7 separate regions of the Homo sapiens genome follow, and regions 2, 3, 4, 5, 6 and 7 are each linked to region 1. The links are contacts of gene promoters, found by promoter capture Hi-C in blood cells and fetal thymus (Javierre and others, 2016). All regions are on one chromosome and are shown on one strand. The core of a region is centred on a gene start or on the middle of the fragment in contact, and the rest is flanking DNA. Distances in the headings are between cores, read along the strand shown. Region 1 holds the start of SCAF8 (SR-related CTD associated factor 8). Region 2 overlaps TFB1M (transcription factor B1, mitochondrial). Region 3 has its middle 6.1 kb from the start of TFB1M. Region 4 has its middle 26 kb from the start of TFB1M. Region 5 has its middle 100 kb from the start of OPRM1. Region 6 overlaps TFB1M (transcription factor B1, mitochondrial). Region 7 overlaps IPCEF1 (interaction protein for cytohesin exchange factors 1).

Region 1 (3,329 bases), core at 11-2,510:
GTGAAAATGGAATCTGCTTTTTAAAATCTTGTTTGACACGTGAATGAACCAGCGAGAAATGTTTCCCCCATAATCTTCCATCTCTCGATGCACAGATCTCTCCCTACCATTTGTCTTTATGTCGTGATGGATTAGAAGAGGAGCGAGTAAAAATAAAAGATATTGCAGAATAACCTTTGCCTGCCTACCAACCATCCAATTAGCTCAAGTCCCTAGCTGGCAAATTACCTAGTCAACAATGCCTCAATTATAAACACTACGTGTAACGTGACCACAGATCAACACCCCGTAGGTTCATTTCCCCCACCGCCCCCAATCGGTGTTAGCCTCAGTGAGGACCCGGGAAGGTCTGGAGAGTCATGTCCAGCGTCCACTTAAATCCTCAAAGGCCCAGGAAGGAGGTGGGCGGGCCAGGCCTCGGCGGAACTGACCTCGAGGGACCTGTCGGGAGTCTCCGGGTGAGGGCCCAACCGGGTCTTTCCCTCCGAGCTCGCAGCCATTCCATAGGACGCCGGAGACGCCAGAACCTCCCTCCGCCCCAGGGCGGCCCTCCCCCAACCCTCCTCCCGGACCCGGGGGAGGGGCACCCAGAGGAGAAACACCCCTCCCCCACGGGCACTGCTAGGCCACCGCTCACCCCACCCTTAAAAAACCCGCAGGCCCGCGCCCACCCTCCGGGCCCCGGCCTCGACCAGGGGTGGGGGCGGTGCGGGCAGGAGCAGGGGAACCCGGCTGCCATACCAACCTCGCTATTGAAGGTCTTCACGGCCTCCATGTTGTCGCTGCGGAGGCCCCGAGCCCGGCGGCGGAAGAGGCGGCGGCCACTGCACTGGGTGGGGAGAGCGAGACGCGGGCTGCTGCGTGGCCGCGAGGAGGGGGCGCTGGCGGGAGAGCGGGCCGCTGCGACCTCGGGGCGGAGTGGAAGGGCACGCGCTGGCGGGGAAGGGCTCCCTCAGCGGCAGAGCGGCACCGGCATGGCCGCTAGGGCGGGGGGAGCGCCGTTCTAGGGAACAGAGGCGCTGCCGGGGCGGGTCGGCGGCGGGCGGGGGAGGGGCTGGGCCGCGGCGCCTTCTCTTCTCTGCCCCGCTCCGTTTCGGTCCCCCTCCCTCTAGCCCCTTCCCCTACACTCTCCACTCCCTTCTGCCCCTTCCTCCGACGGGCTCCTGTTTCACCTCCCCGCCGCTCGGGCCGCAGGAACCAGCCCCGCTCGGCGAAGACAGAGGAGGAAGCGCTGGCAGCAGCGGCTGCGGCATCCAATATGGCGGACTCGAGTCGGGCCGCGCAGTTCGGGGATCCGCGGCGCCGGCTAGCGCGCCCCCTGGCGACTGGACCGTGCGAGCCCCGGCGGCCGCGCGGAAACCATCGAGCGCGCTGGGGCCAGAGCGTCGCCGCCCGTAGGCCCGGCTGGGCTCCGCTGCCCTCGCCTTGGCTCCGGGGCCGCCCGCGCCTCGCCCCCTCCCCGCGCCCCGCGGACGCGGGAGTGAGCGCTGCGGCATCCGGGGGAACGCCGCGGCGGGTTTGTACAGCAGGAGGAGGCAACTCCAAAGCGCGGCTCTAATAAGAGCCTAAACGTGCCCAAGAAGCGGCAAGTTGAGGAAATGTGCGCGTTTCCCTTGTTTCCCGGTGGATTGGTCCTTTTGCACAAGCGGCAGGGTTTAGTTGCTTTTCACAACTTTACTGGACAGTGCCCTAAACATCCGCAGCCTTCGCCAAGAAAAAGTTCCTGGTCATCTATTTAGTAACTGAACTCAATTGTTTTAACTGCACAGGGAGGGAACATTAGAAACCAAAGCCTTGGATTCGGGTTGGGGCAGGCGGCGAGGGAAACAGGCATGCAGCAGCTCCTTGCAGGAAATGCCCGCTGCATAGGATCCAGGGACTGGAGTGGCACAATGAGCGCATTTGTCTGCAAGGCGGGAAGGGGACCCTAGAATGCACAACACTTGAATAGGTGAAAAGGGAACCCGTCTGTTTCGGAAGATGAATTGTTCTAAAGGAATTTTGCCCTAGGATACTTGGAGTAAAGGTAAATACAGTATTTCTTAGATGGATTAGGAGATGCTGCTAGTAAAAAGCCTTCTCTCTCGTGCAGCGCAAAATAAGGTACCAATTTAAAAATACTTATCGATGTTAAAAGATAGGGATGTATCGTGGAACCCCGAACACTGCTGTCCTCTTGTTGAAAGTCATTTTTCAACAATCATTCCCAAATTCACTCAAAGGGAGAGAGGAACATAAGGGCAGGATCGTACTTTTGGAGAGTTTTGGAATCAAGGTAGTTCCTAAGAGCTGTGCGCAGAGCCCCGTGAAACTGGGAAAGTAAGGCCCTTCTTGAGGTTTCAGAGCCTTCATTCTACTTCATTGGCAGCTTTAGTATAGGGCCTGGCTACTGAGAAGGTAACAGGGATAACTCACCAAGTGCTTTTATATTTACTTTCAAAATCTCAAATTCTGTCACAGATTTCTCCACCGTCTCCCATCTTCAGGCCTAGCCATGATCTTTTACTGACACTTGCAGTAGCCTCCTAACTGGTCCCTTGCTTGTCTTCCTACAGTTCATTTCCAGACAGTAGCCGAGGGATGTTTTTCTTAGATAAATCAGATCAGGTCACTCCCTTACTTAAATCCCTTAAATACTTTCTCATTGCCCATTTGATACCATCATAACTTCTCACCATGGCCTGAAGGCCCAGCCCAGCCTGCCGCAGCTCACACCACCTTCCCTTGCTCCCTGACTCTCCTCCTGCCACACTGGCCTTTCTGTTACTTGACAAGAAGCAGTGTTTTCATAGGTAGGACAATTGTGTCTCTTCACACAGGGTGCTGTTGCTCTTGTCCTTTCCATAGCTGACTCCTCCTCCTTCAATCTTCCTGAAAGAGGTCCCCTAATCACTCCATCTAAAGGAGCATTTACTGTGGCTTGAGAAAGTACTGCACTCAGTTCTGTGCATGCCAGGTTCTCACAATCAGAAGTCACTGCTTTGAGGCCGGGTGTGGTGGCTCTCGCCTGTAATCCGAGCACTTTGGGAGACCGAGGCGGGTGGATCACCTGAGGTTAGGAGTTCGAGACCAGCCTGGCCAACATGGTGAAATCCCGTCTGTACTAAAAATACAAAAAAAGTAGCCAGGCGTGGTGGCACGCCCTTGTAGTCCCAGCTACTCGGGAGGCCGAGGCAGGAGATTCGCTTGAACCCGGGAGGCGGAGGTTGCAGCGTGCCGAGATCGCGTGACTGCACTCCAGCCGGGGCAACAAGAGTGAAGCTCTGTCTCAAAAAGAGAAACAAAAAAGAAAAGAACGGAAAAAAAAGGCGCTGCTTTGGCCTGTGAGG
Region 2 (3,096 bases), core at 169-2,668, 550 kb before region 1:
CTAGACCTGCTGGAATTCCAGTACTGCTAGTTTTGAGAGCTTGGTCGGGTTAATAGGCTGAGTTTACTACATCCAGATTTGACCAATAATACCACCCTTGAAGGACATTTGTGAGGAATAGAAATAATCAATGCAGAGTGCCTAATATGAGTATCTGGCAGTGAATGCTGCCAGTCAAAGTAGTTGTTATTGTTATGATATAAACAAATATTTATGGACTAAGTTGTAGTATTCTGATATAAAAATAAGGATTATAATTTTTAAGCTATATATAGAATTTATATTTAATTTTTCCTATTTGGAAGTGTGGTATATAGAACAAGTTACCTTCAAACATGGTACACATTTAAAGCATAAATAGTGTCCATTAAATTGTAGATGAATTAATGATATATCCATGACATATAAAGAAAAGATTGGAACTTGAGACATCCACTCTTGACTTTTGAAGAGCGTTTTAGAGGCTTCCAACCCTGCTTGTTCACAGCTATTGAGGCCTTGACCTCTGTGGGAGATAGTCTTGAGTTTGGTGGGTGGATGGGTCCACAGAAGAGACAACTGTTTTTCATGCTTTTGTGTTTTTTGAAATCTGACATTGAGGATGTTATTTCTGCTGTATATTTACCTTGTATTCAAGAATCATTTTGGTATGAGGTCAGAACACTAGTGTTTTCCTACTTAACTAAGACTCTTCTGTCTTTGGTTTGTATTCTCCTCCTAGAATCAGATTGAGATGGGATTTTCATAAAGGTGATGTATTGACAAGGGCCCTCAGGAGAAGGGGCATGAGGGTAGCAGGAAAGGGCAGGGGAAGAGCTAAGTAAACATATTGTTCCTCCTGGAGGAGCTTCAGCCTAGAACCACGGCGGGAGGAGAAGCTGTGTAGCACAAATTGCCCCACGCGTCTGTGTTCCCTTGAGGCAAGGGACCAGCTTATTGGAACCTGTGCCAGCCAGTCTTTGCAGGGAGCAGTGGGGCAGTCACTTCCCAGTAGAGGCAGCTCCATCTCTGGGAGCCATTAGCACCCATCAGTGCCAGCAGCTGGGGGTGGCTGCCCTGGCCCAGTGGAAGGAGCTTGGCCAAGACACAGCATCCTGTCTAGCTTCCTACCAGTAGACAAAGCTGTCAGATTACTTACATGGCCACCTCTCTGCCGCAGTTGCTTGGAAGTTCTAAACTAAGTTTCATGTTTAATTGCTTTAGCATGCTTCAACCAGGAACATTTAATAGCATTTTTTCTCTCTTCTTTTTGTTTGTAACTTTAGTCTTTCATCTTTATCAGTTGTTTTTATACTTATTATACCTGCAATTTTATAAGTTGCCTCAAATTCTTTTTTAAAGCCCTTGAGTCCAAAATAAAAATAAATATAAACCAAAAGCCATTTTTATAATTAAAGTAGTACCAGAGTCATCCTCCTTAAAAATCAGGTAAAATACGTGTTGAATAGAGATAAGAGTATTTGCTATTACAATTTTAATTCAGTACTAGGCATGCTTCCATAAACTGCTCAAGAATAAATGGTAAGTATTCTAAATCCAAGGAGGGAAAAAACAAAATTGCATTTTTGCAGACAGTACTTTTATGTATGTATAAAATGCAATGAAATTAATACAAAAGTAACTGGAGATAATGATAATAATGTGATAGTGTTCTGCAGAATTATAGGCTAGGCTAAAAATCTCAAAAGTCAAGTAAGTTAGTATTTGCTAAAGTCATGTAGCTGACAATATAGTGATGAAAGACATATGAGAAAACATTGTCCACATCCAAAACTGAACTTCTGTCTAACTACCCTAGTGGGCCTGCCCTCCCTGCACCTCTTATTCACTATGCTGACTAATGGCATCATCCACCCAGGTCATCCAAGCCTAAACCTTGGAGGTCATCTTAAGCACCACCTCCCCAGACCTTTACAACTGCTGACCCTCAGAACTAGTCAGTCGTTAACCAGCTTCTGACATTACCTAAATTTCTCCCAAACCCATCCCAATTTTGTACCCAATTCTTCTGACTTAATTTAAGTCTATCATTTTTGTCAGAATTACTAGATGAATTCTTCAGTCATATGTATAGATATACACGTGCTCCACAGGTTAAAAAAAAAAAAAGTATGATATTTTTGGTCTTTTGGGTTTTGTTTTGGTAACTTTTTATCAAAGAAGAATGAATAAGTATATTCGATAAATTAGACTATGATTTCTCAAACTCAGAACTGTTGACATTTGGGGCCAGATAATTCTTTGTTGCCAGAGTCTGTCCTGTGCATTGTAAGATACATAAAGGCATCCCTGGCCTCTTCCTACTAGATTCCAGTAGCACTACCTCAGTTAAGATAACCAAAAAAGTGTCCCAGCATTGCCGAATGTCCCCTGCAGGCTAAACTCACCCCAGGGAGAGCCACTGGATTAGACTAAGAACCATTGAGTAACACTAGTCATATGCTTTCTGTGCACCAACTGCTTTCTGTGTATCATCTCATTTAATCCCCACGAGAACTCTGAGGGTAGATGCCATTCTTAAGCAAACCAAGACCTTAGTTAAGTAATGCATGCTGTGTAACCATGCACCCACACCAGGGCTTGCACCCGGGTAGTTTGACTCCAGAACCTGGTTCCCTCAGGTTGGAACCATCTCCCCACTTACTAGCTGTGTGAACTTGGGCAAGTTAGGGAACTTATGTCACCTCTGTCGCCCTCAGTGTCCTGTAAGATCCTGAGAATAGTGCCTACCTGGTAGAGTTGTTAGGTTTAAGCCAGGACTGGCATGTGTTAGGTTTTAGACCAGGACTGGCATGTGTTAGGAAGCACTTGCCATGACATGTCACTGAGAATGCAGAGCTAAAAATGACACCACACCTCCCAGTCTAGTTGGAGATGCAATCATGTAAACTCATAATTTCATGACTTCTTAAATAGAGCGTTTTTACACAGTACACATTACTTAAGTCTTGGTGTGCTCATGTGAGCTATTGTGAGGATTAAATGAGAGCATTTATTAAATTCATAGTTTGTTAAATAGAGCATTTTCTGCGAGTGCAGATGCGGGCTTGAACTTCTAGGCTGTCAGGATTGAGTTTACAGGAGAGGTCCGTGTGA
Region 3 (3,403 bases), core at 51-2,550, 590 kb before region 1:
CTAGGGGAGAATCAAATTCTTTGCCTTTTCCAGCTTCCAGAGGATGCTCAACCTTCTTGCCTCTTGAACCTCTTCCACCTTCTTCCTCCATCTGCAAAGCCAGCAACATCAGGCCAAGTCCTTCACACACTGTCATCTCTCTGGCTCTCTCTTCCAATTCTCTTTTCCACTTTTAAGGACTCGTGATTGCAATGGGCTCACCCGCATAATCCAGGATCATTTCCCTGTCTTAAAGTTAGCTGACTGGCAACCTACACTCCATCTGCAACCTAAATTCCCTTTTGCCATGTAACCTCACATATTCACATTTTCCAGAGATTAGAATGTGAACATCTTTGGGGGCCATTTTTCTGCTTACCACAAAAACTAAGTTCCAAAAAGATTAGGTAGCTTGCCCAAGGTCACATAAGTAAAAGGAGGATGGAGCCTGGATTTTTACCCAAGTTTTCTTAACTCCAGCACCCCTGCTCTATTCAATACAGTTTGCTGTACAGTTTGTGTCTAAAACTGGCAACAATCTCCATGGTTTAGGTCTGGTCAGGAAACATATCTTGGTGCCCCTTGTGTGCCAGGCACCCTGCTAGTGCTGCATACACAAAGATGAATAAAATACGCTGTTTTCTTTGAAGAGCTGAGAGTCTGACAAAGGAGGCCCTGAAATTATATTATATTACAATGCAGTATATGATGATGCAAGTTACTATATTGCAAAATGCAACATGGATTCTGCTGGGTTTATGAATGCAGCACAACAGGACCTCAGAGTGGAAGGGATCAGGACCAGAGTGGACAGCGTGACAAGAAGGTGGTCAATAAATATCAAAAAGTTTCTCACAAGGAGTCACACTTGTGTTGGGCCCAGAAAAATGAATAGGATTTTGCCCCACAAAGCGGATAAAGTTGCAGAGGCATTCTTTTGGAGTAGCAGGTCTCAGGATATACTAAGGAAATAAAGGAAGGTGTGACAGAAATGCAACTAGAAAGGAATTTAGACCCAGATCGTGTCAGACCTTGAGTGGCATAGTAAGAGATCTGAACATTCTCCCTGTAAGTGGAAAAAAAGGAACCAGGAAAAATTTTAAGCTAAAGAGGAGCATGAGGTGGAGAAAGAGATCTGACTTAGAAACATAAACTTCTTGGAAAGGCTACTGTGATGGCTTCATGTTAGGGGTTCTTGGGAAGAAATATAAGACAGTCTACAAAAAGATCTACCTAGGACTTTTAAAAGTTTGAAAACAGCTATAAATTTTGGAGTTGCATATTCTTATAGAAAATAAAATGTAGCCTAACTAATCAGAGGAAGTCATTTTCATTCATTTATTTAGCAAATATGTATTAAATATCCATTGTGTATCAGCATTTTTTCTAGGTGAACAATTGGTTCACTTTAGTGAACAAATAGATACTGCCCTGTTTTCATGGATCCTACATTTTAGTAGGGAAGACAGACATATATACAGAAAAACAAATAAGCAACAAAAATAATAACGAAAATAAAGGGTAGTTGTACCAAAGGGGGCAAACAAGACTGAGATGAAGAGTCACAGAACAGGTAGTGAGACCCTTGAGTAGAAACAGGACTGACTGATACTTAGTCTGAATGTACCAGAATGGCCATATTATACTTGTTACAATACTGAATTAGGACACAGCCACAACTGCCAAAAATAGATACTCCCAGGCTCCCCAAAATACCCACCACTGGTGCCTGAGCCACACTGGATTCTCCCTTAAGACTTCCTAGAAGTCCTCATAAACCACCAACCAAAGAGTTAATGCTTGGCCTGAGGATCTAGATCTAACTCCAGCTCTGTGACCTCTGGCATTTTTTCTGATTGTTAGACATTGACTGTCACCTTTTGGTAGGTCAGTTAGCAAAGACATTGATAGAGAAAAAGAGGAGCAGTTCTGTACTCTGAACCTGAACCTGTTCTACCAAGATGGAACCTTTGGAGGAAATGTGTTGATGTGACACTTAAGACTATGGTAAAAAAAAAATAATAATAAAAAAATTGAAGGAAGCAATAGAAGAGCAAACTCTTAAGGAGAGCTTGTCAAAGGTCAAATTAGGTTCTTCCCTTGTTAGAATTTGTCAAGAAAAGCTCTAGCTGAAGAGGTCACCTTGAAGTTGAGACAGAGAAAGAAAAGGCGATAGCCAGCTGAAGAGTGGGAGGTGATCATCCCAGGCAGAGAAAAACTGCATATGCAAGAAAAGAGAGGAAGCAAGCACTTGGCATGTTTGAGGAACTGAAAGAGGACCAGCATGGCCACAGCTTATCTCCAGGAAGGTGGATATATATGAGGTTGGACATAGGTTTTTTAGTCCATAGCGAGCGATTAGATTTTTATTTTAAATGCAATGGGAGGCCCCCGAAGGGCTGTATGCAGATAAGTGAAGTGATCCAATTTCCACTTTTAAAGATCATTTTGCTGCTGAATATAAATGTATTGTAGAACAAGACTGAAAGCTGTTGCAGGAATGAAAGTGAAAGATGCTGGCAGCAGAACTGGAGAGGTCAAGTGTGAGATCTGTTGTGGAGATAGGATTTTGGGAATCGATGACGGTATGGGATACAGGTGTTGAGGGGATGAAGAGATCATTGATGAATGTGGTGATATTAAATAATAGATTTTCAATGTAGACAAAACAGCCTTATATTGGAAGAACATGCCATTTAGGACTTTCATAGCTAGAGAAGACAATTTGATGCCTGACTTCAAAGCCACAAACAACAGGCTAACACTTATTAGGGGCTAATGAAGCTGTTGACTTTAAGTTGAAACCAATGCTTATTTATCTTATTAAAAATTCTAGGGCAAGTAAGAATTATGCTAAATCTACTCTACTTGTGCTCTAGAAATGAAACAACAAAACCTGGATGACTGTACATCTGTTTATAGCATGGTTACTGAATATTTTAAGTCATTGTTGAGACCTACTGCTCAGGAAAAAAAAAAAAAGATTCTTTAGATTCTTTAAAATACTACTGTTCACTGACAACTCACCTGGCCACCCAAGAGCTCTGATGGAGATACACAAGGAGATTAATATTGTTTTCATGCTTGCTAACATAACATCCATTCTGCAGCCCATGAATCAAAGAGTAATTTTTACTTTCAAGTCTTATTAGGTAAGAAACACATTTTGTAATGGTATAGCTGCCCTAGATTGTAATTCCTTTGATGGATCTGGGCAAAGTAAATTGAAAACCTTCTACAAAGGAGTCACCATTCTAGATGACATTAAGAACATTCATGATTCATGGAGGAGGCCAAAATATCAACATTAACAGAAGTTTGAAAGAAGTGGTTTCTAACCCTCATGGATGACTTTGAGGGGTTTAAGACTTCAGTAGAGGAAGTAATGGCAGATATTGTAGAAGTAGCAAGAGAAATGGAATTA
Region 4 (3,245 bases), core at 114-2,613, 610 kb before region 1:
GATAACTTGTTTCCTGACCTCAACAGTCTAAAAAATATCCAATAACCAAGAAAATGGAATTTGAACTAATACGTCTGCATGAGCCAAAACAGATAATAACAACAACAAATAATGCCATCACCTCATGCAGCCAGGGCAGGCTGTCTTCAAATCCCTTTAAAAGATTTTCATAAACATAATCTCATTTGATCTGCTAAATAGCATTATAGTAGTTTCCCCTTATCCATGGGGGACATGTTCCAGAGCCCCAGTGCGTGCCTGAAACCATAAATAGTATAAAATCCTATATATACTACTTTTTCCATACATACATACAATAAAGTTTAATTTATATATTAGGCACAGTAAGGGATTAACATTATCAAATAATAAAATAGAACAATTACAAAAATATACTACAATAAGTTATGTGGATGTGCTTGCTCTCTTTATCTCTCTCAAAATATCTTATTACACTGTACTCATTGTTCTTCTGATAATTTGAGATGATACATGCCTACATGATACATGAAATGAGGTGAATGAAGTAGGCATTGTGATGCAGCATTAGGCAACTATTTGACTTTCTGATGACCCTTCAGAAGGAAGAGTGTCTGCTTTGGGTGATCCTGGATCATCAAGCCATGACTATGTCAATGGTTGGATGTCAGGAACACATGATGTCAGTGGCTAACTAGGTAGGTAGTGTAATGGGCAGGTGGATACACAGGACAAAGGGATGATTAAGGACCTGGGTGGGACAGAGCAGGATGGCATGAGAGTTCATTGTGCTTCTCAAAATAGCATTTGATTTAAAATTTATGACTCGTTTATTTCTGAAATTTTCCATTTAATGTTTTTGTACTGCAGTTGACCATGAGTAACTGAAACCACAGAAAGCAAAACCACAGATAAGGAGGAACTACTGTGTAATTTTTAAAAGGGTTGGCAATCTTATTCCCATTACTCAGATGAAAATTGTAGGGTTACCGTATTTCATCCAAATAATGACAATGACTGGAGCACTATTAATAATTATGCCTGGACAACAAACATAAACTTGAGATGGTCACAGGCAAACCAGAACATACAGTCATCCTAGAAATACTATGTCATAAAGTCATGCTTTTGCTTAGGCAAGCTCCTCAGGCCATCTCTAAGAGCTTATTTGCTCCTGCTAATAGGTGATGTACCTCCCCCATGAGGCAAGATGTTATTTGTGGCTAAGGGGAGCAAAGTCAATCTAGAAGGGTAGGGTTGACCTGGGAGTCTAAAACAGATGAATTAGGCTAATGGTACAAATCACAATGACCAGGGCACTTAGTGAACTTGTGGCTAACAACAGATCCCAAAGGGGCCCAGCCTCAGCTCCAGCCCATACTGTTGTAACAAGGAAGAACGTTGCTTTTCAAAGACCTGCTGTGTGATGCATGCCTGAGTCAATGAGACAGGCCCGCCAGTCTCCTTCTCACAACAGATCCCAAGGGGACCCAGTCTCAAATCCAGCCCCTCTAGCTGCAGTCAGGGACCTATATCACCTGTGCAGAGACCTGCTGGGAGGCATACCCATCTGAGCCATCAGGACAGTCTTCTGGACTTACTGGCCAGTATTCCCACTCAGCCCCAGTACCCTCCTTGGGTCCTCACCAGGCTCATCTGAGCCAGAAGGCCACACAAACTTTGGAATCCTCACAAGACCTGGAGTAAGCCTGAGCTTATAGTGTCCTCTAGTGCTGAGACAGCTACAGTGGTCACAGGCTCAGGAAAACCAAGACAGTCTGCTTAAAATCCCTAGAAGGCCCTCTGACAGGGACAGGCACAAACAAGGCCAATTTGTGAAGGCTAAAATGAATACCTAATCCCTCAATGCTCAGACATGGTCACACGTCACAAGCATCAAGAACGTTCAAGGAAATATGACCTCACCAAACAGACAAAATAAGGTGCCAGAAGCTGACCCTGAAAGTGATGGAAATGTGTAATCTCTTGGACAAAGAATTTTAAATAGCTGTTTTAAGGAAGCTCAACAAACTTCAAGAAAACACAGAGAATCAATTCAGAAATTTATCGGAGAAATTTAAGGGAGAGATTGAAATAACTTTTTAAAAATCAAACAAATCCTGGAGGTAAAAAATACAATTAATGAGATTAAAAAATGCAATAGAGAGCATCAACAGCAGAACTGGTCAATTGGAAGAAAGAAATAGTAAGCTCAAAGACAGACTATTTGAAAGTCAGAGGGCTCACGCTTGTAATCCCAGCACTTTTGGAGGCCGAGGTGGGTGGATCACCTGAGATTGGGAGTTTGAGACCAGCCTGACCAACATGGAGAAACCCCATCTCTACTAAAAATATAAAATTAGCTGGGCGTGGTGGCACATGCCTGTAATCCCAACCACTTGGGAGGCTGAGGCAGAAGAATCACTTGAACCCGGGAGGTGGAGGTTGCGGTGAACCAAGATCGCACCATTGCACTCCAGCCTGGGCAACAAAAGTGAAACTGTTTAAAAAAAAAAAAAAATCTTTGCCTAGACATATTGTCATTAGGTTATCCAAAGCTAAGACAAAGGAAAGAATTTTAAGAGCTGTGAGACAGAAGCACCAGGTAGCCTATAAAGGAAAATCTATCAGATTAACAGCAGATTTCTCAGCAGAAACCCTATAAGCTAGAAGGGACTATCTTCAGCCTCCTCAAACAAAACAATTATCAGCCAAGAATTTTGTATCCAAGCAAAACTAAGCATCATATCTGAAGGAAAGATAAAGTCATTTTCAGACAAACAAATGCTGAGAGAATTTGCCATTACCAAGCCAACCACTATAAGAACTGCCAAAAGGAGCTCTAAATCTTGAAACAAATCCTGGAAACACATCAAAACAGAACCTCTTTAAACTATAAATCACACAGGACCTATAAAACAAAAATACAAGTTAAAAAGCAAAAACAAAAACCAAAAAACCAAAGTACCCAAGCAACAAAGAGCATGATGAATGCAATGGTACCTTCAATACTAACATTAAATGTAAATGGCCTAAGAGCTCCACTTAAAAGGTACAGAACTGCAGAATGGATAAGAACTCACCAACCAACTATCTGCTGCCTTCAGGAGACTCACCTAAGTATTCACATAAACTTATAGGGGTGGAAAAAGGCATTTCATGCAAATGGAAACCAAAAGCAAGCAGGTGTAGCTATTATATCACAGAAAACAAACTTTAAAGCAACAGTGGTTAAAACAGACAAAGAGGGATATGACGTAATGGTA
Region 5 (3,221 bases), core at 713-3,212, 590 kb after region 1:
GACCAATAATTTTAATAAATGTAGATGAAGAAGAGAGGACTGTGTGCTGTAGTGGTCAAGGAGGGCTTCATGGAGGTGGTGAAGTTTGAGCTGCATTTTGAGGTATCGGTATAGATGGAGCAAGAGTGATGAGAGAAGGACTAGGTATGCCAGTCTTAGATACAATGGGACAGAGGAGTGAACTCAGAAAAATACCAGGTGTATTAATAGACACATAAGCAGTTTGGCTTACTGTAGAAAGGCAATCAAAAAAATATTAAATTACCTTATATTAAACACATATTATATCTGTGCATTTATGTGCATATATGTATGTCTATGTTAGTGACCTTTTTTTATATATATATTAGAAATGAGACTCTATTAGTCTGGCTGGAATTCCTCTACTCCAGGCAGAGAATGTTCAGGGAGTTCAAAATACTCTCTGATTGGTATGGAACCTGGAAGAATTGTAAGGAAGAACTGGTCCTCCCTTGGGGTTCAGATAGGTCTCAGTTATTTGATGGAATTGGGGGAACCTCAGATGAGGCTGCATTAGAGAATGAGAAGAGTGGCAGAAACCATGGACTGCAAGGCTAAAAGGCCAAGTGTGAGCAGTGGAAGGTATCCGAGCTAGTGGAGGGGAATCCGTGCAAGTCTACCTCAATTCTTGCCTTCTCAGTAGAAAGAATTCGACTGAGGGGCATAAGTCAGAAAAAGAGACTGAGGCAAGTTTCAGAGCAGGAGTAAGGGTTTCTTAAAAAGCTTTAGAGCAGGAATGAAAGAAAGGAAAGTACACTTGGAAGAGGCCCAGGTGGGTGACTTGAAGGACAAGTGCCCCGTTTGACCTTGGATCTAGGATTTTATATTCTGGTCGACTACTGGAGTCTAGTGCCCCTTTCCTTGGATTCTTCCTTCAGGGAGAGCCGCCTGCATGCTCAGTGGCCTATAATCCCAGGGCGACAAGAGTACACAGTGTGTTTACTGGAGTTGTACACATGCTCGCCTGAGGTGTTCTCGCCTTTTCTGGTGGAATGTCCCCAGAAGGTCATACTACCCATTTTGCCTCTTAATGTGCATGGTCGAGCCCAGTCACCCAGTTCCTGAGATCTTATTGGAAGCTGCTGATGACCAATTTCAGGTGTTATTATCTATGGAGAGACTGCCTCTCCCTGGCGCTGGCTGCGACCTATTGTTATTTTAGAGGGGCAGTGTGACAACTGCTTGACCATCACCTGACTTTCCTGGAGGGGTGGGGTGGGGAGTCCTGTCCTGCCCTGCTCATGCCTGATGAGCTACCCACTGTAACACAAGCCCAGCAGAGACGGCCAGAGGTTGGAGGGGACAGATTACAGGTCCAGAGCGTGAGAGTTGGGCTATTTGCATCTTTTCCAACTTTCAAATGCTTGAGCACTCTGGAGAGGAGAAATCAAAGATGATACCAGTACCACAGATCTACTAGCAACCACTTGTGTAAAACTTGGTCATGAGAGGCAGAATGTAAGGCAGGAACTGAGGCTTGTGGATTGGGAGATGTGAAAGGAAAATATCTTGGGCCTTGAAATCACTAAGGTAAAAGGAAAATTCAAGCCGGGAACTGCTTAGGGCAAACCTGCCTCCCAGTGTATTCAGTCATCCTTTTACTCACTGAGATAAATGCATATCTGATGGCCTCCTTTGGAAAGACCAATCGGAAACTCAAAAGAATGCAACAGCTTGTCTTTCACCTAGCTGTGGCCTGGAAGCCCTTTGCCCGCTTCGCGTTGTCCTGCCCTTCTGGACTGAACCAATGTTCATCTTACATATGTTGATTGATGTCTCACGTCTCCCAAAAATGTATAAAACCAAACTGTGCTCTGACCACCTTGGGCACATGTCGTCAGGACCTCCTGAGGCTGTGTCACAGCTGCACATCCTCAACCTCTGCAAGATAAACTTGATACATTAACTGAGACCTGTCTCAAATTTTCGGGCTTCACACAGAGCTCTGCCGACTTCAGACCACAGGGCTGCTGCGAATACCACCAGCCCCACCCCCATCAAGGCCTCCAAGAGGAAATAATTTGGGAGAAAATTAATGGAAAAGACTGGAGTTTTGGCATGACAGACCTAGGGGATAGAGCACTGAGACTTAGGGGTAAGCTAACCGTTAGAATATTTATACTCACCAGCTGGTAAAGACTGGGATAAGCGGGTGATTTATAACATTAACACGCGCTGCCCATGTACTGAGCATCAGGGAAGGTGCTTTGTGTCCATTATCTCTTTTATGTGAGGTAGGTTTTATCTTTCTGATGAATGAGAAAACTAAACCTAGGCTCAGAATAGCTAAATGTATTGCATCCAATAACAGTCAGGGGTGGATCTGATTCTAGTTTGAGAGTGACAAATCTTAACCATGAGACCACCAAGGAGTGAACATTCTGGTTTTGCCTTGGCTCCATGACTGAGGCTCTGATCAAACTGTAAGTCTAGTACTGAAGAGCTGGGGCCATACGTGAGTCATTCATTCAGTCTGGCTTCTACAGCATCTAGTGCTGGCCTCAAATGGACATGTGACAACCAACTCTTGAATGGACTTGATCACATTAAAAACAGCATCTGAGTAGTTAGGAAGTGGCCAATAGGATGCAGTCTGCAGGAAGTTTGCAGAAAGGGTGCCTTCTCCTGCCAGGCCGTCAATAGGGTAGGGAGTGTAGGCAGGGTGCCCTCTGTGGGTTGACCTGTATATCTATGATTCATAATGGCCTCCTTTTGCCCTATCTGGAGCTGCATATGATTCTTGGGAGGTCCATCTCCAAGTAGTGCCTCAAAAATAAGGCCAGGCGGGGCTGCTCACACCTGTAATCCCAGCACTTTGGGAGGTTGAGGCGGGCGGATCACCTGAAGTCAGGAATTTGAGACCAGCCTGGCCAACATGGCGAAACCCTGTCTCAACTAAAAATACAAAAATTAGCTGGTGTGGTGGCACACGCCTGTAATGCCACCTACTCAGGAGGCTGAGGCAGGAGAATCGCTTGAACCTGGGAGATGGAGGTTGCAGTGATCTGAGATCGTGCCACTGCACTCCAGCCTGGGTGACAGAGCGAGACTCTTTCTCAAAAAAAAAAAAAAAATAAAATAACATAAACGGCTAAACTTTCTATTATTTTTAAGGCTGATGATGAAATAAACCATAGGTCAGGGAAGTATGTAAGCTTGAAAGTTGAAGAGTTCTAAAGTCTTACTTCCTCTGGGGAGGA
Region 6 (3,362 bases), core at 630-3,129, 570 kb before region 1:
TTATTCTAAAGACAACAGTAACCCTAGGTCATCAAGAAAAGGGTGAAATTTGGTTTAGTGTTCTTGGCCTAAGGAAGAGGATTGTGCCATATAGCATCCCTATACATTGGCCTAAGGAAGAAGGTTGTGTCGTTGGCATACCTGTACGTTGTGTACAATGTATAATGATAAAATTAGGATAATTAGCATATCCACCTCGAACATTTATCATTTATTTGTGGTAAGAACACACAATTATTATGTGTCAATTAAAAATAAAACAAACAAATAGAATAAAATCTGATATGGTTTGGCTATGTCCCTACTCAAATCTCATCAGTGAGCTCTCACGAGATCTGATGGTTTTATAAGGGGCATTTCTCCCTTTTGCTTGGCACTTTTCCTTGCTGCCACCATATGAAGAAGGACGTGTTTACTTCCCCTTCCACCATGACTGTAAGTTTCCTGAGGCCTCCCCAGCCATGCTGAACTGTGAGTCAATTAAACATCTCTCCTTTATAAATTACCCAGTCTCAGGTATGTCTTTATTAGCAGCATGAGAACGGACTAATACAAATCTAATGTCAAATTTAAAAAAGAGAGTGAAAGATTTGATAATGACATTGAAATATCCAACAAACTTAAAATTCCTATAAAAATAATTTTAGATATTTGTAGTATCATTTAAGATACGAGTGGTTATGTGATTTCTGTTTGTTTTTGCTCTGTTCATAAATTTAAAATACTGAGAAAGTCTGAAAACGTACATTTTTAATACAATTCAAGTTATTTTACATACTAAAAAAAAATAAAGCAAGCTAATTGACATTTTGACATCATGCTGTAACCTTCCCTCTAAAAGTCTGAAAAGTCTGCTGTAACATCTTAATTTTTTAATGAATAAATAGCAGTAGTCTTTTATATGTGTTATATATAAGAATACAAATTTTATCTTTCACCTACTATATTTTATACTATAGATTCTTTCCTTCTCATACAGTTTGCTTAACAGTTTTGCCCAGCCCTGTTACAAATATTTATTTCAACAGCATTTGGGCCCTACTATGTGGCAAATCAGGAAGAAGATAATTAACGTAACTACAGTGTTGGCTGCCATGAACCCCTTACATGAGAAGGTGACATAAAATATGCAAAATGGGTATTCAATGTAGTATTTCTTCTTAAGGAATCGATAATTTTGTGTAAGTTCTAAGAATTGCCTAAATTCTTTCCTCATCCAGTAAAATCAACAAAAAGCTGCCTAGCCAAACCACAATTACTTGCCCCCTGCAGAGGAGCTTTCACTAAGACTTTGGTTAGAGAAGAGATTTTTTTTTAAATGGCCACAGAAAGAATGCTTCTACATTTGTGTTTTAACTTGTATTAAAGGCATTGTTTATTACATTGTTTCATGTACCCTTTACAAAGCATAATACCAGGGAAAAAAAAATTATCTCTTGGAGTCTTGGTACAACTACTATTGAAAAGCAAAAATTATATATTTCATTATGTAAATCACGAGAGCTAGCTGTCATGATTGTTAGGATTGTTAGCTCTTGTGTTTTACATATATGCTTCCCCTCTTCATGGTTTGATTTTCGGTTTCTTCTTTTATAGCCTTATGTAATGATGCCTTTTACTCTAAACTGGCATACATCTCATTTTGGAAGAATATAGAATTGAACACTAAAATAAAAATGAAAGAAGAGTTTGAGAGTGTCTGTAAAAATACTCATTTGGCTGTAATCTGGTGCCTGCATTTGTGATTGGCTGTGCCTTTAAGCACATTCTGTGAAAACACCTCCAGGGTTTTGAAGTGTAATGCTCCATTGTTATTCTCGAATGCATATAATAGTGATTTTCCCACCCCCTCCACCATACCCCATGTATCATTATGGTAGTGAAAACATTTCTGCTACTGGTTGGCTAGAAGGTCTTCATGTGTTATTGCCTAATATCATTTGAAGTGTTTAAAAGGGTACTGTCTATAATCATAATATCAATTTAGTCTGTCTAGCACTGTTTCCCCATAATTGCTTTAAGGACTTCACATAAATCTGTTAACATGAGCGTTCATTCCTTCTGCAGTGGGGAGTTGCAAAGTAGATCAAGCTACAAATTGTCAAGAAGGAGGTGTACCTTTTAAAGTGTGGGGAGGATTTGGTTTGTCATTGACTGAGATTGAAAAGTGAATGGGAATCCAAAAGAAATGTAGTTTTAAACCTAGGAAAGGAGCTGGGTATGGTGGCTCACACCTGTAATCCCAGCACTTTGGGAGGCCAAGGCGGGCAGATCACTTGAGGTCAGGTGTTAGAGACCAGCCTGGGCAACATGGTGAAACCTCGTCTCTACTAAAAATACAAAAATTAGCCAGGTGTGGTAGTGCACACCTGTAATCCCAGCTCTTAGGGAAGCTGAGGCAAGAGAATTGCCTGAATCCCAGGAGCAGAGGTTGCAGTGAGCCAAGATTGCACCACTGCACTCCAGCCTGGGCAACAGAGCGAGACTCCATCTCAAAAAACAAACAAAAAACAAAAACAAAAAAGAAAACCCAGGAAAGGAAGGTAAATTTATTTATATTATATTAGCTTTTAGATATACAGTTGTACCTGTCAGGGTGGGAAAAGTTAACACTTCAAATTAAGTTAACGTCAAACAGCCAAATTTACATTGTTCTGTTGTGTTTTAGTCCTAACTACTAATTATTAAATACTTTCTATATATTGACATCATGAGACTTAAGCTATTAGTTCTGCCTCTTTGTTTTTGGCGTGCTAATTTGTTTTAACTTTGTGAACATAATTATAGAAAAAATTTTAGCGTTTTCCATTGATGATAAGTACTGTGATTAAATATGTGGTTTTATACATTAAGAGCATGCCGCATAGAGAGCTGTCTCTTTTTAAATTTTTAGTATATTGAAATCGTTATATTTTCCAAGATTTATTGCCTGGAACTCACCAGATCAAGTTTTACTAACTAGTGGTAATTTAAAATAATCTATAAGTACATTAGTATCAGAGGCATGCAATTATTTTTGCTAAACTACCATGGCTAAACATATCAAACTAGATGATTTCCAGACTTAAAAGTATGTTTAGCCTCTTACCAATAGAGGCGTTTCAGCTATTTATTTCTGGAAGATTATTTGTATAAATCTGCCTGATTGACTTGTGAAGTAAATCTTTGCAAGTTTCTAGACCCTACAAATTTGGGAAGCCAACATCTCCCAGGCTAAAAGAGAAAGTTTCCAGCTTTACAGAGACCTGAATGCCATTTGGTCATTCACTTATTCATGCACTTCTTAAATATGTATTAAACACTCACCATGCATTGCTGTAGCTACAGGGGCTATAAAGGTAGATAGGAAATGGGTCCTGCCC
Region 7 (3,080 bases), core at 524-3,023, 570 kb after region 1:
GGCAGTGGTCTCGCTCAGGAGGCTGTGGCAGCAGATCAAACGTGATATATTGAACTGGATATCCAACCTTAGGATTATGGTCATGGGATGGAGAAAACAGGCATAGATTTGAGATACAATTGTCAGGGCTGAATATTTGTTTTTAATATGGAGGATGAACATCTTATTTATACTCCATTCCTTGTCTATAGAAAACTCTAACCTGAGCTAGACATTTCAGAAATGTGTGCCATTGGTTACAGAGGAGGCAGAATGGAATAGCACCAATAGGTTGTTTATTAGCATTATTGGAATACATACTGTTTTGATGGAAGGTTAGTAGCCTCTTCTTTGACTGAAAAGATAATCTGTGTATTTATTCTGTATTAAATAAATGTGATTTATTAAAAATAAAGATAATTTAATAAAATCTTAAAAGACATATTTTATGTTGCCATATGTCCTAGGTAAAGTGTTACGTTCCAATTTTACTTAGTGAAGTTTGGATTGTCAATAAAATGCTAATACCTACAATGGTAAGTTTTAGGAGGCATGATTCCCACACCAAGGTAGAATTGTTACTGTGGTGTGGAATAATGGATTGATCAGGGAAAGGCAACATAGAAGATCTTTGCTATATGTCTAGCTCTTCCACTAACTCTTGGGTAGGATACTTCACTTCTTTGCGGCTAGCGTATGCAAACAAATGTCGTATTTCTTAAGCTTAATGCTGGAATTAGAACATTAACGTGCAAAAATGCTTTGGTAATTTTATGTATATGTGTACTTGTAAAAGAGTTGGTAAAGATGGTTTATGTAAATTAAGACACTCTCAACATACCCCCTTCCCCTTTTTTTCTACTCACACAGTGTAAAGAACATGATCTGGCCATGATTAACCAGTTGCTGGATGACCCGAAGCTGACAGCCAGGAAATACAGAGAGTGGAAAGTCATGAACACCCTGCTGATCCAGGACATCTATCAGCAGCAGCGGGCTTCGCCTGCCCCTGATGACACTGATGACACCCCCCAGGAACTCAAGAAATCACCTTCTTCTCCCTCTGTTGAAAATTCCATTTGAGACAAAGTCAGGGTTTTCTCCTCTTATATTTTATCACAAGCAACTCTTCAAGATGTTGCAAAAGCTTACATTTTTCCTTAAAAGGAAAACTGAAACCCAGTCCTTCAAGCATCAGCTTCCCATCTAAAGATGCACGTTAGATGAAGATAATCACCGAATACACCAGGGCTCCTCATTTCAGTCGTAACGCATCCATTGAGATTGGAATGATTGAGTTCAGTTGAAAGGCGTTTTTTGTGTTCCTACTGGGAGCTCACGGTGATGTGGGGCTCTAGGGGGGATGTGAGAAATGTCTCTTCTGTTCATTGCTCTCCAGAGAATGCTATGGACAAGAATCAAATTTTACCAGGAGTAATTGCCCATGGAAACATTCTGTTTTTCAAAAGAAGAATGTACATATTCCACTTGACTGGGAAGCTGTGTGGCCCAAATCACTGTTTGAGTGGAGGAATGTTTTCTAGAGCAGTGACTGGAAGGACAAACGTGGTGTTGCAGAACAAAAATTCCTTGCCTTTGGTATGGAATGGTGGTGCCTTTTCCATGTGATGAGAAATGCTTCATAGACAGTGGCATGTGGGAGAGCTGAAGGAGGAGGCGTGTTCCATATTCCACTCATTCAAAGGACAGCTTGGTGTTTTCACACTTTATGCAGGTTAGGGGATCTGATTAATGTTTCCTTTCCTTACAACAGCTAGAGAAAACATCTCATCACAATTGGAGACCTCTACTTCCTTTGAGCTTTCCTACTCAATGGTAGGAGATAGGAATATGTTCCGCAAAGAATGTCTACTGCTCTTGTCCTTGGCTGTGATCCCTATACATAGTGTGAATTTATATCCAGGTTTCCCAGGATCAATATTGACAAGACGACTTTGGCATCTGAATTGTTTTAATATCTTTACTCAAAAAAACAAAAAAACAAAAACCCATGGAAGCAACAAAAGAGTTAAACATGAGGGATTTATTTTTGTATGTTTATATGTCACTTGTGTGCTATGTGAATAGCTATGTTTGTTATTTAAATATATTTATAGAAGTTCAAATTACTAGTGTTTAAAAGATGATATACTATTATATATTGTGCTTAGTATATATTTGATGAGTCTATACTTTTTGCTTGAGAAAAATAGAAATACTATTGATTCACTGGTGTTATGATGTTGCACTGTGTCTGAGGAATGCTCAGGAAATCTTGTGGGAAAAAAATGGGGCATGCATTCATAATTTTTCATTTTCTTCCCCACCCCAACCCCCATGAGCTCTTAAATTTAGATTTCTATCTCTTGTAAGTCACTCTTTTAACCAGCAAAGGACTTTCATCTTAGATTATCCTTTCTATTAAATAAACTTTAAGCTTTGTGCCATTTATGCCTGCAAACCTTAGACCAAAGGCAACACAACTAATGTCATCTTTTCATTAAAGACTAATAGAAATTTAGAAATCATTGTGTTAAAGAGAGCTATAGAGAAACAATATGAAAGTCTTCCCTTACTAATCACCATGAATATTTCTCACCATAGGAATAACCACAACCCACCAAGTACCCATGTTGGCCCTGCCTACCCGTAACAAATTGTTCACACAACCTATTTTGTTTTATAGCTTCAAAGTGTGGCTTGACATTCAAATGGAAGGAACCACCTGAATTATATCTGCAAACAAAATGGAAATAGTTGTTGAATAGTTCCCCAAGCTTTACTAAGAAGCCTTAATACTCTGTAAACAAACAAACAAACAAAAAACAACCTTAGCATTAAGAAATAAAAACAAAAAACAAGAAGCAAGTTGTACTGCTAGAAACTTCTCTAAGATAAGAGGCCAGGCCAGTCAGTTTGGCCCAGCAAACATGTGGGTACTTCTCCACCTAGGGAAGCCACTGAAGATGAGTTTGACCTGTGGTGACCTGACAGAGAGAACATTCAGATCCTCAGATTGCACCCTGATGCCCTGGTTTAGGAAAGCAGTGCTTTAACCTTTTGCCCCTGGAAATTACTGATTCTTTCTGTGATTAGCAGAT

What was found. The method cuts DNA at HindIII sites, captures the fragments that hold promoters and counts their contacts. A CHiCAGO score of 5 or more calls a contact.
Region 2: a fragment that was not itself captured here is called in contact with the fragment with the promoter of SCAF8 in region 1 in 2 of 17 cell types (neutrophils and naive CD8 T cells); the score reaches 6.5 in neutrophils.
Region 3: a fragment that was not itself captured here is called in contact with the fragment with the promoter of SCAF8 in region 1 in 3 of 17 cell types (neutrophils, fetal thymus and naive CD8 T cells); the score reaches 15.0 in neutrophils.
Region 4: a contact is called between a fragment that was not itself captured here and the fragment with the promoter of SCAF8 in region 1, in 1 of 17 cell types (neutrophils). The highest score is 7.3, in neutrophils.
Region 5: a contact is called between a fragment that was not itself captured here and the fragment with the promoter of SCAF8 in region 1, in 1 of 17 cell types (monocytes). The highest score is 5.9, in monocytes.
Region 6: a fragment that was not itself captured here is called in contact with the fragment with the promoter of SCAF8 in region 1 in 2 of 17 cell types (neutrophils and activated CD4 T cells); the score reaches 10.0 in neutrophils.
Region 7: a contact is called between a fragment that was not itself captured here and the fragment with the promoter of SCAF8 in region 1, in 6 of 17 cell types (naive CD8 T cells, fetal thymus, M1 macrophages and 3 more). The highest score is 7.3, in naive CD8 T cells.

The regions. Positions count from the first base shown.
Region 1 is chr6:154,731,347-154,734,675 of GRCh38, reverse strand. It overlaps SCAF8 (SR-related CTD associated factor 8), which reads right to left and starts at 1,260. Exons shown (of 20, transcript NM_014892.5): 1 at 746-1,260. The coding sequence starts at 775. RefSeq lists silencers at 488-1,087, 1,238-1,357, 1,388-1,627 and an enhancer at 724-1,227. The HindIII fragment of the contact is 14,602 bases long and covers 1-3,329 here.
Region 2 is chr6:155,278,227-155,281,322 of GRCh38, reverse strand. All of the region lies in intron 5 of TFB1M (transcription factor B1, mitochondrial), which reads left to right. Among named protein-coding and RNA genes, the nearest start is that of CLDN20, 16 kb to the right of the region's middle. The HindIII fragment of the contact is 4,898 bases long and covers 1-3,096 here.
Region 3 is chr6:155,318,907-155,322,309 of GRCh38, reverse strand. No RefSeq gene overlaps it. Among named protein-coding and RNA genes, the nearest start is that of TFB1M, 6.1 kb to the right of the region's middle. The HindIII fragment of the contact is 7,367 bases long and covers 1-3,403 here.
Region 4 is chr6:155,339,063-155,342,307 of GRCh38, reverse strand. No RefSeq gene overlaps it. Among named protein-coding and RNA genes, the nearest start is that of TFB1M, 26 kb to the right of the region's middle. The HindIII fragment of the contact is 4,422 bases long and covers 1-3,245 here.
Region 5 is chr6:154,140,207-154,143,427 of GRCh38, reverse strand. It overlaps a transcript of OPRM1 not described here. Among named protein-coding and RNA genes, the nearest start is that of OPRM1, 100 kb to the right of the region's middle. The HindIII fragment of the contact is 2,432 bases long and covers 747-3,178 here.
Region 6 is chr6:155,299,955-155,303,316 of GRCh38, reverse strand. All of the region lies in intron 2 of TFB1M (transcription factor B1, mitochondrial), which reads left to right. Among named protein-coding and RNA genes, the nearest start is that of TFB1M, 13 kb to the left of the region's middle. The HindIII fragment of the contact is 4,922 bases long and covers 1-3,362 here.
Region 7 is chr6:154,157,810-154,160,889 of GRCh38, reverse strand. It overlaps IPCEF1 (interaction protein for cytohesin exchange factors 1), which reads left to right. Exons shown (of 12, transcript NM_001130700.2): 12 at 850-3,080. The coding sequence ends at 1,062. It also overlaps a transcript of OPRM1 not described here. Among named protein-coding and RNA genes, the nearest start is that of OPRM1, 120 kb to the right of the region's middle. The HindIII fragment of the contact is 1,290 bases long and covers 1,129-2,418 here.